Linked DNA regions of Homo sapiens: region 1 is linked to region 2. Evidence: promoter capture Hi-C in 16 types of primary human blood cells and fetal thymus (Javierre and others, 2016). All regions are on one chromosome and are shown on one strand. The core of a region is centred on a gene start or on the middle of the fragment in contact, and the rest is flanking DNA. Distances in the headings are between cores, read along the strand shown.

Evidence for each region. Contacts are between HindIII fragments. The CHiCAGO score rates a contact against its expected background, and 5 or more counts as called.
Region 1: a fragment that was not itself captured here is called in contact with the fragment with the promoter of SDSL in region 2 in 2 of 17 cell types (M0 macrophages and M2 macrophages); the score reaches 6.3 in M0 macrophages.

The regions. Positions count from the first base shown.
Region 1 is chr12:113,948,126-113,950,825 of GRCh38, reverse strand. RBM19 (RNA binding motif protein 19) reads left to right here. Exons shown (of 24, transcript NM_016196.4): 9 at 672-743; 10 at 1,790-1,993. It also overlaps the pseudogene TRE-CTC16-1. Among named protein-coding and RNA genes, the nearest start is that of RBM19, 17 kb to the left of the region's middle. The HindIII fragment of the contact is 3,542 bases long and covers 1-2,700 here.
Region 2 is chr12:113,421,107-113,423,806 of GRCh38, reverse strand. It overlaps SDSL (serine dehydratase like), which reads right to left and starts at 1,427. Exons shown (of 8, transcript NM_001304993.2): 1 at 1,330-1,427. The HindIII fragment of the contact is 13,599 bases long and covers 1-1,635 here.

The sequences.
Region 1 (2,700 bases), core at 153-2,652, 530 kb before region 2:
AGGAGTCACAGAAAGAATCTAAACAGCCTTGTGATTAAAGGCAGAAAACCCAAGGGCTTTGGACCAAGTATTAGACATTGCCAGCTATTAGCCGAGTGCCCCTCGGAGTATTTCTTTAATGCTCCAGAAAAGCAGGGGAATGGTCCTCACCCCTCACCTTGTTGCCTCACAGGTTTGAGGCCCAAAGAGGTCAGGAAGCAGAGCCTCTCATGCTAGAGGAAAGACTCCCCCATTTGCTTGTTTTTTTGTGCAAGTCAAGGCCTCAGGTGCCCAGGAGCAGAGTGGGTGTGGAGAAGGTGCTTCCAGCGCCTAGGTGGGTCCTCATGCTGTAGCCACAGGCCCTTCTCCAGAGAATGGCTTAGAGCAGGTGCCAGTCGGGGGATGGGGGTGAGGCTTGGAGGGAGACAGAAAGGCCTCCTGGGCTTCCAACTCCTGGCATTCAGCATCTTCATCCATGACACCGGGCTGGGGTCTGTACACTCCCTGCAGAGGGAAATTTGGCTGTGGGTGGGAGACAGAGAGAGGGAGACCCTTTGTATTTTGGAGATCTGACCAAGGTAGAGGTTTCTCCCTCACTTTCTGCTCCTAGCACAGTATGGGTGTTCCTCTGGGGACCACCACAAGTGTCTGCAAGGCCTGCAGATTTTACCTCTGTCATTGTCCTCTGTCAGGATACATCTTTGTGGATTTCAGCAATGAAGAGGAAGTGAAGCAAGCTCTGAAATGCAACCGGGAGTACATGGGTAAGGAAGCCCTGGCCATGTGCTCTCTCTGTGTTACAGCGTTCCTTCGTTCCTTCATTTCCTTTACACGTTCTTGTACCAGCACCATCACCACCACCAAGAATGCAGTGTCTCTGCAGACACTGTTCTAGGCACTGGGGACATGGCAGGGAGCAAACAGACCCAAATCCCTGCCCTTTCGGGGCTGACAGAGAGTAAACTGACTTAGGAGGGAGAGACAGGTGGTTAAATGTGTGATCCATGCTACAGGGAAACACACAGCAGGCACGGGTCCTGGGGAGGGCAGGGATTGGAGGAGGCTTGGCTTTAAACAGGGTCCTGTCTGCTTTGGCCTCACCGAGGGGTGACATTGGGACACAAACCTACAGTTGTGTAGGCTCTGGCTCTACGGACAGGATGTTCAGTAGAGGGAACAGCACGTGCAAATTCCCTGGAGTTGGGAGGTCTTCTGAACAATACCCAGGGATGTATTCTTTGACCAATCCCTGGCCAAGACAAGTGATTTGAATCCAGCCATCAACCCCAGTGAAGACATGAGTTGTGTTAGAGAAGGATGGAGAGCCTTGGGAATCTTGTTAGCAAGTCAGGAGGTGGGTATTTATTGAGCACCTAGTAGTGCCTGTGCAGGATACAGTGATAATAGCACCCTAATCAGGCACAGGGGCTATGCGTGCAAATAAATCATCAGCAGGTAAGTACCCAGGGCTGGGCTGTCACCTAAGACCCTTCCCAAGGCAGAACAGCAAGCAGTGCCAGAGAATACAGCCCGGAGTTTAGAGAATGCATCACCGTGGTCTGGGATAACTCAGGCAGGCTCCCTCCAGGGCTGAAGCTGAACTGGCAGGGTGAGTGAGATTTGGGTTCAGGCCTGGTGTTGGCTTGGCTTATGCTGCCGCCTCAGGTGACAGGGCAGGTGTTGGGTGCTGTCATCTGCCACCTTGATTGTGTTTTTTGGAAGGCAGCAGAGAAGAGTTTGGAGTCACCAGCAAGGAGTTGCTGGCAAGTTCTAGGCCTCCCCCTGGAGCCCTGACTCCTCTTCATTGCAGGTGGGCGCTACATCGAGGTGTTCAGGGAAAAGAACGTCCCCACCACCAAGGGTGCACCAAAGAATACCACCAAATCCTGGCAAGGCCGGATACTCGGGGAGAACGAAGAGGAGGAGGACCTGGCCGAATCCGGAAGGCTCTTTGTACGGAACCTGCCCTACACCAGCACCGAGGAGGATCTGGAGAAGCTCTTCTCCAAATATGGTAGGGGTGTGGCCTCCGGGCCGTGGATAGCCCAGCGGCTATGGGAGCCGGGCTCTCACTCTGACGTCCTGGGTTCAAGTCCCAGTGTGCACACGACTCCACATCTCTTGCCTCAGTTTTCTCATCTGTAAAATGGGACCAAGTACCCCTGAGCTGCTGTGAGGATTCAGTGACATGATGAATGCAGGGATTCGCAGGGCAGGAAGTAAAAGGTATTAATAGCATCACTGGCATCCTTTGCTGTCTGAACTCTCTAACTTCTCCAAATTCAGAATTGAAGCAATTCGGATGACTTTTTTGAGATACTCCCTTGCTGTCCAAAGTCATGCCACTCGGTATTGGAATTGAGTAACTGTACAGGTTTCACCTGATGAATATACCTACACGGCGTTCCTCCGTATCTGAACTCTTAATTATGTAAAGTCTTCTTATCCAAGCTGAGCACCAAATAGATTTGATAGTGTCAAGGTTAGTGTTGTTGTTGCTGTTATTTCTCAGGCCATGGGCTTGAGGGCCTGTAGTCCAGCTTGGTCACAACAGGCTGTGTTTGTTTGTGGAGTTACCATTGTTGAAGGGCAGGAAGGGAGGGTTCAGGATGAGGGGAGGTCTTGATACCTTTGAGATCCCCGCAGTGTCTCCCCATGTCTATTCAGAGGCCAGCTGTAGGTTGTGGAGGATTGGAGATGTAGGTTGAACACCTGATGTGG
Region 2 (2,700 bases), core at 178-2,677:
TGTCAGGATGAACTCCCCCTACTCCATAATCCTTCCGCTTTCTTGTTTTTTTGGTGTTTGTTTTAGAGACAAGGTCTCACTCTGTTGCCTGGGCTGGAGTGCAGTGGCACGATCATGGCTCACTGTAACCTTGAAGTCCCGGGCTCAAGCAATCCTCCCACCTCAGCTTCCTGAGTAGCTGGAACTGTAGACATGCACCACTGTATCCGGCTGATATTTTAATTTTTATAGAGATGCAGTTTTGCTGAGTTGTCCAGGCTGGTCTTGAACTCCTGGCCTCAGGTAAATCTCTTGTCTCTGCCTCTCAAAACACTAGGATAACAGGTGTGAGCCACCTGTTGGCTCACAACAGATGAGTCATTAACTCACCATTGACTCCATTTTATAAACAGTGAACCTGAGGTCCAGAGAGATTAAGTAACTTATCCAAGTTCACACAGTTAGAAACAGCATAGCCAGAATTCACACCAGGCAGTGTCTTTGGCATCTGTGCTATTAACCGCGATGCTATACTTTCTCTAATATACTAGTGTTATCGTTACTATTATGAAAGCTGCATGCATTTAATATTTATTGCCAATTGTCCTTTGGAACCAAATGCTCCTGGCTCAGTTTCCAGGCTTCCCCAGCCCTCTTGGTTATACTGACTCACAAGAGGACAGCAGGCATCAGTTAAATGAAAAAGCCCCAAGTTGCCAACAGCCTTATCAACCCCAGACCCCATCAGGCACCTGAGGTCTGGGACTGAGCTGTCTTGGCCCAGGGACACACACCTCTTGTCCCGTATGGCAGCCACCAGGGCTGAAATGGGGGACCTGGGTCTCCCTGCTGTGGAATAACCCAGGGGAAAGCAGGGGGCTCAGGCTCAGGTCCCAGTCATGCCAACCTTGGCCAAGTCACTTTTGTCACTGGGCCTTACCTGTCACATCTATGAGTTGAGGTAAGGACCACCAGTGCTGTCCACCTCACTTGTCCCCAAAGCCTTTCCCCAGAGGCCACCTTGGTGGCACTCCACAGCCAAATCCCTGGTGCCAGGGCTGGGACACCTCGGGCTGGCCCCTTGGCTGGCAGAATGCCCAACCCTGCCCCTCTGGCAGGCAGAACCCACTCTCGCCCTTCAGGGTCCCCAGCACAACACTTTCTTCTGCAGGGCACCCTGAATTCAATCGACATTCCCAGGAGGGCCTAGAACACGCTCAGGCCCTCTCACTCCCACCTGCTCAGCTTGGACTTTGCCCAAAGCCTCCCAAACTCCTGCAGCCTCTCATCAGCCTCTCATTCACACACACACTGAGCCCCAGGGGCCCCAGCTGGCCCCAGACCCCTTACCTCCCTGCCCAACTATCCCAGACCAGCGTGGCCCCAGCTCCTGCCCTCCAGCCTGCCAGGGAACCAGCTCTTTCCAGGAACCGGCTCTGTCCAGCTTCAGGCAGCTTCCGGCAACCTTGGTCCCTCCTCCTTTGTTAAAGAGAAAGCTCCAGACCCTAAGCCTCCGGGTGAAGACGGAGGAGGAGAGGGGATGAGAGCAACCCTCACCGCTTTCCCGGGCACTGCCTATGACTCATGCACCACCCTGTCTCATTTGACAGATGAGCAAACTGAAACTCAGAAAAGGGAACTTATTTGGCCAAAGCTTCCCAGACAGCAAGGGGCAGAGACAGCCTTTACCCCTGGCCCTGGGCCATCTCTTCCGGGATGCAGGCATCTCCATGTCTTCTCATTTTAGGTCTAGTGATTGTCCCGGATGCTGAACCACTGTTGGGGTCAGCTTAGGTCTGGGATGGGAAAACAAGGACAAGGGAACTTTTTTTTTTTGAGACACAGTTTCATTCTTGTCCCCCAGGCTGGAGTGCAATGGTGCGATCTCGGCTCACTGTTACCTCCGCCTCCTGGATTCAAGCGATTCTCCCACTTCAGCCTCCCAAGTAGCCAGGTTTACAGGCACCCACCACCACGCCAGCTAATTTTTGTATTTTTAGTAGGGACAGGGTTTGACCATGTTGGCCAGGCCAGTCTCGAACTCCTGTCCTCAGGTGATCTGCTTGCCTCTGCCTCCCAAAGTGCTGGGATTACAGGCGTGAGCCACTGCACCTGGCCAAGGAAACAATTATTATAATTATTATTTGTGACATGGGAAAGGTATATTTTTGTCTGAAGCACCTCTCCGTCTCGGATATTTTACACGCAGCATGAGAACCCAAGCAATTATTTGCTACTCAGATGAATGACTGACCATTCATTCATTCATTAAATGTTTATTGGACACCTACTATGTGCCAATCCCTGGAACTTTGGCCTCAAACAAAATAGCATGTCCTCTGCCTTCACAAAGCCCTTAGAGAGGGCCATTAGAGAGCACTTATTAGTGCTATCAGATGTTAGCAGCTGGCAGGGTGGGGCAGGGCTGTGGAACCCAGAGCAGGCACCCCGCCTGGCCCTGGGGGGCTGGGGAGGCTTCCTGGAGGAGGGGAAGTCTGAGTGGAGCCAGGAGTCAGGCACAGGGAGTGCAAAGGTCTGGAAATGAAAAACATGATATATTCCAGGGTCAGGGTAGTATCCAGTGGGGCTGGGAGGGAGAAGGCAGGGGTGGGGAAGCAAGTGGGGTTGAGGCTGGAGATGTGGGCAGAGATCAGAGTCCACAGGGATGCCTGTACCAATCCAGAGTTTGGACCTTACCCAGGGGCACTAGGGAGCCACAGA